Regions from separate parts of the Homo sapiens genome. Here all the other regions are linked to region 3. The links are contacts of gene promoters, found by promoter capture Hi-C in blood cells and fetal thymus (Javierre and others, 2016). All regions are on one chromosome and are shown on one strand. The core of a region is centred on a gene start or on the middle of the fragment in contact, and the rest is flanking DNA. Distances in the headings are between cores, read along the strand shown.

Region 1 (2,700 bases), core at 134-2,633, 180 kb before region 3:
GGCCAGGCTGGTCTCAAACTCCTGACCTCAAGTGATCCACCATCCTCAGCCTCCCAAAATGCTGGGATTACAGGCGTAAGCCACCACGCCTGGACTTAGGCTTTCTTAATACTTCACTTTTTATTTTATTGTTAATTTTTATTTTATTTATTTATTTATGTTTTGGGAGAGACAAGGTCTCGCTATGTTGCCCAGGCTGGTCTTGAACTCCTGGCCTCAAGGGATCCTTACAACTCAGCCTCCCAAAGCTGAAATTACAGGCATGAGCCACCGCAACCAACCCAACACTTAATATTTTTTTTAGAGCAGTTTTAGTTTCACAGCAAAACTGAGCAGAAGGTAAAGAGATTTCATATATACTCCCTGCCTCCACACATGCAGGAGTGTCCCTCATTATCATCAACACCCCCACCAGAGTGGTACATGGGTCACAGATGATAACGCAGGTACCTTTCTGAGTCTGAATTATTTCACCTAGCATACTGCATTTGAGATTCATCCAGTGCTTTCACTTAGCATACTGCATTTGAGAATCCCATAGTGCATGGGATTTTGTGGAATATTCCATTGTATTGTATGGCTAGACACAGTTTGTTTTATCTACTCACCAGTCAGAGATTTAGGTTATTTATTTGTTTTGGCAATGGCAAAACCTCTAGAAGCAACTCTGTACGGGTTTTTCAGTGAACATAAATTTTCATGAATTTCTTCTGACAAGAATGCAGTAACAAAAAATGCAATTACTTTCCCATCTGAAACAACTAAAACGCTGGGGGGAAAATGCACGAAATGGCTTTCAGACACAGGGCATCAGGCAGCACAGGTCAGTGATTCCTGAGAGCGGAGAACCAAATGAGGGAGCCCTCCAATTGCTACAGCACCAGGAAAGGGGACTCGGGCAGAGTCTGGCAACCTCTCAGAATCAAGGAGATGGAGTCAGGAGTCCTGTGGATAGGGCTCACTGGGCAGTATCTCAGAGAAGAGACAGCTTCACAGAGACAGCGCTCCAGAGATCTGCAAACGGTCCCCGTGAGCCTTCAGCTGCTGATCCAGGCACACCCGAGGCTGAGAAAGAACCACCAGAAAAGATTAGAGGAAGCAATCCCCGGAGCTCATGCAGGGCGAAGAGTAGTTCACATTACAGCCAACTAAAATGGCAAAACTTCCTAATTCATGAGAGATGAGGAAGAGTATTCAAAGGGCATTGCCTCAGTAGTGGGGTGAGGTCAGCCCTGGATTAAAGGCTGCCCTATGTGAGCTCCAGGGATTTTCCTTCCTCATCCTTTCTAGAGGCTCCTTCCCTTGCCTTAGGTAGTTTCCTCACACAACTGCACTATCAGCGCTCAGCTGAAAACTTGGGAGGACCCTCCAAGGTTCTCTGGTCCTGCAAACTCTTACTATCCTAACCTCCCCCCAGATTCTTGGCACCTCTCCACAACTCAGAGAGAATGCTAGGCTTAGCCTGGGGCCCTCTCCCCAGCCTTCCAGGCACTACAGCCTACAAACGATCTCCAGGCAGTAAACTGGAGCAACAGTAAAGCTCATCTCCTGCGTTTCTCCCTCTCAGGAATGACAATTCTCTGCTGCCTATTGTCCAGGGTCTGAAAACCATTGTATCATAGGTGCTTTCCAATTTTTTTAGTTGTTTGAGGTGCAAGGGTAAATGGTCCCTATGCCTCCACCTTGGCCAGAGCTAGAGATGACATCATCTAATCCTGTTTTAAAAGAACCACCCTGGAAATTAGATTAAAGAGGACCAAGGGTAAAAGCAGGAAGACCAGTGAGAAAGCTACTGCAATAATCCAGGGGAGAGCCAGGGCGGCCTGGGCAAGGACTGTAGGGATGGTGGTAGCGAGAGGTAGTTGAGGTGATGATATATTTTGAACATAAGAGTTAATGGGATTTGCTGACAAAAAGGTTTCAGGTCGGAGACAAAATAAGGAGTCATGGTAGACTCCAAAATTTTTGGCCTGATGACTGGATGAATGAGGAAACGTGGGGAGGAGCAGATTTGGGGTCAGATTGAGGTGAAATCATGAGTTTGGTTTTGGGCAGTTGACATAACCAAGTCTGCCAGGAAGTCAGGAAGGGCTGGTCACTCGCCTCCCAGCCCTCACCCACTCAGCTGACAGCCCCTCCTGACCAGGAACAGGAGGGTGTGAGCTCAGTGCTGGCCACACCTGGGTTTTCCTCCCGTAATGCTGGCTCAGCTTACAAACTACTTAACATTTACATGGCCTGCACTTTGTAGTTTTTAAGTATTTCAGTCCAAGCATGGTGGCTCATGCCTGTAATCCCAGCAGTTTGGGAGGCCAAAGCGAGCAGATCACCTGAGGTCAGGAGTTCAAGACCAGCCTGGCCAACGTGGCAAAACCCCGTCTTACTAAAAATACAAAAAATTAGCTGGGCATGGTGGCACATGCCTGTAATCCCAGCTACTTGGGAGGCTGAGGCAGGAGAATTGCTTGAACCCAGGAGGTGGAGGTTGCAGTGAGCTGAGATCGTGCCACTGTACTCCAGCCTGGGCAACAGAGCCAGACTCTGTCTCAAAAAAAAAAAAAAAATTCACACCTGTTGATTCATTTAATCTTACAAGAGTACCATGCAGTAGATGTCATCATCCCCATTTTGCAGGTTAGGGAACTAAGGCTTGGAGAGATGAAGTGGCTTTCCCAAGGCCGTTTCACTGGTAGGTAACAG
Region 2 (2,700 bases), core at 58-2,557, 190 kb after region 3:
ATTTGCGATTCTGTTGTTTATTTTTATTTATTTATTTATTTATTTGAGATGGAGTCTCGCTCTGTTACCCAGGCTGGCATGCAGTGACATGATCTCGGCTCACTGCAACCTCTGCCTCCCGTAATCAAGTGATTCTCCTGCCTCAGCCTCCCAAGTAGCTGGGATTACATAAGCATGTGCCACCATGCCTGGCTAATTTTGTATTTTTGGCGGAGATTGGGTTTCACCATGTTGGCTAGGCTGGTCATGAACTCCTGACCTTAAGTGATCCACCCACATCAGCCTCCCAAAGTGCTGGGATTACAGGCGTGAGCCACTGTTTATTTATTTTAATCCAAAATAAAAACTGTGGACCTGCTTGGATAATTTATCATGATACAGCCAATTTGTTTGCATTCTTACCTCATTAGCCTGGCATCTCTTAATTGCCACAGGTTAATCGTGAATTGAATCTCAAAGGTCTCAGCCAAAGAGTATTATACCACATTAAAATAGGGTGTGAGTTTTCTGTTGGATCTCTGTGCTGGATGATTAAGGAGGGAAGAGGAAATGGTTTTCAGAGCACACTGTTTTAAGAATAATTAACATTTTGTTTTTGTATACAGTTGGAGTTCAGTGATGATATTGTGAAGATCATTCAAGCAGCCATTAATTCAGATGGAGGACAGCCAGAAATTAAAAAAGCCAACAGCATGGTCAAGTCCTTCTTCATTCGGGTGAATGATATTACTAATTCATGTTTTTAATGCTTACCTATAAGTAATTACCCTGTGAATACAATGAACTTGTTCTCTTCTACTTTTTGCTTTGTGGTGTGTATAAAACATCTTTGGTTTAATTTGATCCCCTGATTCTTTGAGAGGAACTTGGTGAGGTTGCCAGAGTGGATGGATCTTTCTCTTGGTGGCCTGAAATTATCCTCGTATTAACAGAGAAGCTGGTTTGAAGATTTTTCATGTGGTATCTAAATGAGTGTTTACATATTTACATTTTGTTTGTGTTTTCTTTTAGCAAATGGAACGTGTTTTTCCATGGTTCAGTGTCAAAAAGTCCAGGTTTTGGGAGCCAAATAAAGTATCAAGCAAGTAAGTGAATTTAGCATAACTTTTTTTTCTCCTCATCGGCTAGAAATCTGAGAGTTCTCATATTTCTAGATTGCAGTTTTCCAAAAGGTTTTAATACTAGAAATGAATTGGTTGAAATGCCTTTTCGGTGTGGTTTTGAGGACTACATTTAATGTTTGTTATAAGCAATTGCCTTTTTGTTCTTTACTTTTATATTTGTTTTATTGTAGGGAGCTTGGTTTAATTGTGACAAATGTACAATACATGTGTGGTACAGCCATGTAGCTGGCCTTGTTATAAATGGGTTCTGTTTGACTGATAGTTCAAATGGTGCTTTGTACTGCTCTTGATTTTCCATATGTAACCTTTAATTTTTATTCCAGTAAATTCTTTTGATTTGATTTTATTTATTTATTTATTTTTTTTTTTTTGAGACGGAGTCTCGTTCTGTCACCAGGCTGGAGTGCAGTGACATGATCTCGGCTCACTACAACCTCCGCCTCCCTGGTTCAAGCGATTCTCCTCCCTCAGCCTCCCAAGTAGCTGGGAAAACAGGCGGGCACCACCATGCCCAGCTAATTTTTGTATTTTAATAGAGACTGGGTTTCACCATTTTGGCCAGGATGGTCTTGATCTCTTGACCTGGTGATCCGCCTGCCTCACCCTCCCAAAAGTGCTGGGATTACAGGCATGAGCCACCATGCCCGGCCTCTTTTGAGTTTTTGATAGGGTTATCATTTGTTTCAGCAAGTTTAACCAAGAGTCATATGTTGAGATATTTTTTAAAATATTGAGTTCTGTGTACTTCAGCAATTTTCAAACGCTGTGACTTGTTCTTATATTCTGTGAATGGCTCCTACATGGGGCAACAGGTGATATCAAGAATTTATTTTATACAGTTCTAGGTATACTGTAGGAGTTCAATAAATGCTTGTTGAATCAATTATTTTCAGCAGTGGGATGTTACCAAACGCAGTGCTTCCACCTTCACTTGACCATAATTATGCTCAGTGGCAGGAGCGAGAGGAAAACAGCCACACTGAGCAGCCTCCTTTAATGAAGAAAATCATTCCAGCTCCCAAACCCAAAGGTCCTGGAGAACCAGACTCACCAACTCCTCTGCATCCTCCTACACCACCAATTTTGAGTAAGCCACCAAAAGGAGAGTCGTCACCCATTTCCCTCTAGATGCAGATGATTGACTTCGTGAATCCAATTCACTAAAATTAGATATACTTGGATATCAGAAAGGAATTTTCAGGTCATCCTTAAATGTAATACCATCATTAATTTTGCTTCACTTGAGGTGTTAATGAGGACTTGATATAAATACTCTGGAGTATTGTAACATAGATGATGAGGTAGCGTAACTCTGAACACTTTTTGAAAAGTGGTTATTTTATAGGCTGTGGGCTATGTAAGCTGAATTATTTCTTTTTTCCTTGAAATCAGACATAGTATTGCCAATTTTAACTGGATCTCAAGGTATTGATGGGAGTCTTTTGGATTTCAAGGTACTGATAGGAGTCGAGAAGACAGTCCAGAGCTGAACCCACCCCCAGGCATAGAAGACAATAGACAGTGTGCGTTATGTTTGACTTATGGTGATGACAGTGCTAATGTAAGTACTTTGCAA
Region 3 (2,700 bases), core at 132-2,631:
TATATTATTTCTTACACTCCTCGTTCTCCCTGTTACCTGCCGTGCTGGATTTTCCATTTCTCTTCCTCATCTCTGGACTTCAAACATGCTGCTGCCTCTATCTGGAATGCTTTCCACTCCACCTGGTTCATTGCTGTTCCTCCATCAAATTTCAGCTTAGATGTCACCTGCTCAGGGGGACCTTCTCTTCCCCATCCCACCCCAGACTATCTTAGATCCCTTCTATCACTCCCACAGCACCTGAACGTCTTTTTTCTTAGCATCAATCTCCTGAAGTTATCTGGGGGGTTTTTTAGAGATGGGATCTCACTATGTTGCCTAGGCTGGAGCGCAGTGGCTATTCACAGGCACAATCACACTCACTGCAGTCTCGAACCCCTGGGCTCAGTCAGTCCTCCTGCCTCAGCCTCCTGAGTAGCTGGGAATACAGGTGTACACCATCATGCGGGGCATGGTTATTGGTTATGAGGTTATCTGTTTAATCTCCACATTTCCTTTTTTATCCAAGAGGACTATTTATCTTGTTTCTCCTGTATTACTAGCACCCAGCATATAACTACAGTACAGTAGACAGAAAATATGTATTAAATAAGTGAATTTCATCAAAATGTTTTCTAGAGTCCCAGCTCTGTAATCTGCAACTTAGATAACCTGCCTGAGCCTTAGTTTGCTCAAGTATAAAATGGAAATAAAAATAAAAATAATACTTACCTTAGAGGGTCGTTTTGAGGATTAAATAAGATATATCAGAAAAGCTCTTAGAACGGTGCTTGGATATAGTAAGCATTTGATTAATGCATGCTTAAACATAAAGAAAGGTTACATCAATTCACACTCATACCAGCAGACTTTGACACTATCACTCTTTACCCTGTTCAACATTGAGTCTTGTGTTTTTAAATATTTTTGTAAAGAATATAGGTAAAAAGTGGCATTTTTTCTTTGGATTTAATTCTTATGGATTTAAGTCAACATGTATTTTCAAGCCAACAAGTTTTGTTAATAAGATGGCTGCACCCTGCTGCTCCATGCCAGATCCACCACACAGAAAGCAAATGTTCAGTGCATCTCCCTCTTCCTGTCAGAGCTTATAGAGGAAGGAAGACCCCGCAATGTGGAGGCATATTGTATTACAATTACTTTTAATGGCAAAAACTGCAGTTACTTTTGTGCCAACCTACTACATGGTCTGGACAGCTAAATGTCATGTATTTTTCATGGCCCCTCCAGGTATTGTCAGAGTCCTCTTGTTTGGCCTTCTAGGAAGGCTGTGGGACCCAGCTTTCTTCAACCAGTCCAGGTGGAGGCCTCTGCCTTGAACGTTTCCAAGTGAGGTAAAACCCGCAGGCCCAGAGGCCTCTCTACTTCCTGTGTGGGGTTCAGAAACCCTCCTCCCCTCCCAGCCTCAGGTGCCTGCTTCAGAAAATGGTGAGTCTCTCTCTTATAAAGCCCTCCTTTTTCATCCTAGCATTGGGAACAATGGCCCCAGGGTCCTTATCTCTAGCAGATGTTTTGAAAAAGTCATCTGTTTTGCTTTTTTTCCAGAAGTAGTAAGTCTGCTGGCCTCCGCCATCTTAGTAAAGTAACAGTCCCATGAAACAAAGATGCAGTCGGGCACTCACTGGAGAGTTCTGGGCCTCTGCCTCTTATCAGGTGAGTAGGATGGAGTGGAAAGGGTGGTGTGTCTCCAGACCGCTGGAAGGCTTACAGCCTTACCTGGCACTGCCTAGTGGCACCAAGGAGCCTCATTTACCAGATGTAAGGAACTGTTTGTGCTATGTTAGGGTGAGGGATTAGAGCTGGGGACTAAAGAAAAAGATAGGCCACGGGTGCCTGGGAGAGCGTTCGGGGAGCAGGCAAAGAAGAGCAGTTGGGGTGATCATAGCTATTGTGAGCAGAGAGGTCTCGCTACCTCTAAGTACGAGCTCATTCCAACTTACCCAGCCCTCCAGAACTAACCCAAAAGAGACTGGAAGAGCGAAGCTCCACTCCTTGTTTTGAAGAGACCAGATACTTGCGTCCAAACTCTGCACAGGGCATATATAGCAATTCACTATCTTTGAGACCATAAAACGCCTCGTAATTTTTAGTCCTTTTCAAGTGACCAACAACTTTCAGTTTATTTCATTTTTTTGAAGCAAGATGGATTATGAATTGATAAATAACCAAGAGCATTTCTGTATCTCATATGAGATAAATAATACCAAAAAAAGTTGCCATTTATTGTCAGATACTGTGTAAAGAAAAAATTATTTAGACGTGTTAACTGGTTTAATCCTACTTCTGCCTAGGAAGGAAGGTGTTATATCCTCTTTTTAAAATTCTTTTTAATTTTGACTATATAAACTGATAAGTCCTCTCTACTTCACAGATTAAGAAATTGATACTCAAAAAAGTTAAATAACTTGTTTTAAACCACATAGTAAGTGCCGAAGCCAATCTGTGAGACCAGGACTGTTTGTACTCTAAATGGCTGCACCACATGAGGCAAAATGGCTCGTGATGGTTTTATTTCAAAGACCTAGAAAACACTATCACAGCTGGTGCTCCCGTCTCAGACCCACAGCAACGATGTCTCCACTTCCTGCTTCATCTTGGGTTTCTCACGTCTTGAATGTGCACACAAATCACCTGGGGATCTTGTTAAAAATGCAGCTTCTGTTTCAAAAGACCCAGACTGGAAATGGAGATTCCGCATGT
Region 4 (2,708 bases), core at 164-2,663, 170 kb after region 3:
GTATCCTGTGGGTAGGGTTTCCAAAGAGAAGGTTGTTGGTGAAGATGTTGCCACTTCATCTTCTGCCAAAAAAGCAACAGGGCGGAAGAAGTCTTCATCACATGATTCTGGGACTGATATTACTTCTGTGACTCTTGGGGATACAACAGCTGTCAAAACCAAAATACTTATAAAGAAAGGGAGAGGAAATCTGGAAAAAACCAACTTGGACCTCGGCCCAACTGCCCCATCCCTGGAGAAGGAGAAAACCCTCTGCCTTTCCACTCCTTCATCTAGCACTGTTAAACATTCCACTTCCTCCATAGGCTCCATGTTGGCTCAGGCAGACAAGCTTCCAATGACTGACAAGAGGGTTGCCAGCCTCCTAAAAAAGGCCAAAGCTCAGCTCTGCAAGATTGAGAAGAGTAAGAGTCTTAAACAAACCGACCAGCCCAAAGCACAGGTACTCTTTTCCACCTTGCCTATTAAAACTAACAGTTTATTGAGCCCTTTCTATGGGCAAGTTTTAGGCTAAGTGGTTCAATTACATCCAGTTATGAGAACCAAGAAAAGTATGGTGGAGGCAGTGGTATTTGCAGTAGTCCTTCAAGGACCAGTAGGATTTTGATAGGTAGAAAGTGGCAGGACATAACATTCTAAGTAGAGGGAACAGTGTGGGTAGAAATGGAAAAGTAAGAAATATATTTGAGGAATACTGGATAGCTGGATTGGCATCTGTGGAAAACTGGTGAACTAAGGCTGAATGAACTAAGGTTGGGACTATATCACAGAGGATGCTGAGTTGTTTGTACCTTATAAGTTTGATGTAATTAAACCAGGGACTTAATTGTAAAGGTACATTTTAATAGTCAAATTGTTTTACTATCCCCGATAGAATAGAAAACCGGAGGGGAGCATTCTCTTCCTCTGAGTAGTGAGGGATTGGAGCAATAGATAATATGTTTTTGCAGAATACAAATGAGAAGTACTGGCCAGGTGCGATGGCTCATGCCTGTAATCCCATCACTTTGGGAGGCCAAGGTGGGCGGATCACTTGAGGTCAGGAGTTTGAGACCAGCCTGGCCTGGCCAACACGGTGAAACCTCATCTCTACTAAAAAAAAAAAAAAAATTAGCTGGGCGTGGTGATGCATGCCTCTAGTCCCAGCTACTGGGGAGATTGAGGCACAAGAATCTCTTGAACCCCGGAGGTAGAGATGGCAGTGAGCTGAGATCCCGCCACTGCACTCCAGCCTGGGCCAATAGAGTAAGTCTCTATCTCAAAATAAATAAATAAATAAATAAACAAACAGATTAGAAGCACTTAGCCTTGAGCCATGGAACAGGAAAGCTATAGAATTCAGTTAGTTAAGATGATGCCAAATATTTTTACAAAGACCAGCATTTTTGTTTTTTTTTTATTGTTTTGTTTATTTGTTTAACAAAGTAAGCTAGTCACTGGCCTTTTCTGAGAAAAGTTGCTGATCTTTAGGGTTTTAAAAAAATCGTCATGTAGTAGATGCCTATTTATGGCAGCAAATCAGGTTAGGTTAAGATGGCCATAAACTTATATTTGTAATGTTATTCACGGGCTGGGTACGGTGGCTTACGCCTGTAATCCCAGCACTTTGGGAGGCCGAGGCAGGTGGATCACGAGGTCAGGAGATCGAGACCATCCTGGCTAACACGGTGAAACCCTGTCTCTACTAAAAATCCAAAAAATTAGCCAGACATGGTGGCATGCGCCTGTAGTCCTAGCTACTCGGGAGGCTGAGGCAGGAGAATCGCTTGAACCCGGGAGGCGGAGGTTGCAGTGAGCCGAGATCACGGCACTACACTCCAGCCTGGGTGACAGGGCGAGACTCCGTCTCTAAAAAAATAAATAAATAAAATTAATGTTATTCAACCTAGGGCCATAGTTACATTTACTAATTCTGCCAGTTGAGAATTGTAGCAGGAATGTGATGGGACTTATTTTTAACACCATGTTGGATGTTTTTGTGATAGGAGCAGCGGCTCTTTAAAATCTGAGACATTTCTTTTGGAGCCTTTTATACTTTCTCTTTTTTTTGAGACGGAATTTCGCTCTTGTTGCCCAGGCTGGAGTGCAATGGCGTGATCTTGGCTCACTGCAACGTCCGCCTCCCAGGTTCAAGCAATTCTCCTGCCTCAGCCTCCCAAGTAGCTGGGATTACGGGCATGCACCACCACGCCCAGCTAATTTTGTATTTTTAGTAGAGACAGGGTTTCTCCATGTTGGTCAGGCTGGTCTCAAACTCCCGACCTCAGGTGATCTACCCGCCTCGGCCTCCCAAAGTGCTGGGAGTTGCAGGCGTGAGCCACCACCTATACTTTCATTTATAAGTTATTTCACCCCTACTTCTCTGATGATCAAGGAAATATAAGAAATAGTTTTTGGTTAGATAAGCCGTATTTATACCACACTGAACTTTTTGATAATATAGACTGGCAGCTTGAATTTTGAGGGGAATTTAAAATAGTAGTATAATTGGGAATAGAAGCTTAGTTGTTTGTTTGTTTTTAAGATAGGGTCTCACTCTGTCACCCAGGGTGGCTCAAGTGATCCTCTTGTCCCAGCCTCCTGAGTAGCTAGAACTACAGGTGTGTACCACCACGCCCAGCCAATTTTTAAATTTTGTGTAGAGATGGGTTCTCGCTATGTTGCCCATACTGGTCTTGAACTCCTGGCCTCAAATGATCTTCCCACCT

What was found. Contacts are between HindIII fragments. The CHiCAGO score rates a contact against its expected background, and 5 or more counts as called.
Region 1: a contact is called between a fragment that was not itself captured here and the fragment with the promoter of CD3E in region 3, in 1 of 17 cell types (neutrophils). The highest score is 5.4, in neutrophils.
Region 2: a fragment that was not itself captured here is called in contact with the fragment with the promoter of CD3E in region 3 in 6 of 17 cell types (naive CD4 T cells, activated CD4 T cells, total CD8 T cells and 3 more); the score reaches 11.2 in naive CD4 T cells.
Region 4: a contact is called between a fragment that was not itself captured here and the fragment with the promoter of CD3E in region 3, in 3 of 17 cell types (naive CD4 T cells, activated CD4 T cells and total CD8 T cells). The highest score is 7.0, in naive CD4 T cells.

Annotation. Positions count from the first base shown.
Region 1 is chr11:118,127,887-118,130,586 of GRCh38, forward strand. No RefSeq gene overlaps it. Among named protein-coding and RNA genes, the nearest start is that of SCN4B, 24 kb to the right of the region's middle. RefSeq lists enhancers at 1,996-2,497, 2,498-2,700. The HindIII fragment of the contact is 4,106 bases long and covers 1-2,700 here.
Region 2 is chr11:118,493,683-118,496,382 of GRCh38, forward strand. It overlaps KMT2A (lysine methyltransferase 2A), which reads left to right. Exons shown (of 36, transcript NM_001197104.2): 17 at 606-716; 18 at 1,012-1,085; 19 at 2,018-2,211; 20 at 2,579-2,685. Among named protein-coding and RNA genes, the nearest start is that of TTC36, 32 kb to the right of the region's middle. The HindIII fragment of the contact is 3,432 bases long and covers 1-2,700 here.
Region 3 is chr11:118,303,349-118,306,048 of GRCh38, forward strand. CD3E (CD3 epsilon subunit of T-cell receptor complex) reads left to right here and starts at 1,382. Exons shown (of 9, transcript NM_000733.4): 1 at 1,382-1,428; 2 at 1,546-1,653. The coding sequence starts at 1,605. The HindIII fragment of the contact is 4,787 bases long and covers 1-2,700 here.
Region 4 is chr11:118,473,874-118,476,581 of GRCh38, forward strand. KMT2A (lysine methyltransferase 2A) reads left to right here. Exons shown (of 36, transcript NM_001197104.2): 3 at 1-442. Among named protein-coding and RNA genes, the nearest start is that of KMT2A, 39 kb to the left of the region's middle. The HindIII fragment of the contact is 2,169 bases long and covers 330-2,498 here.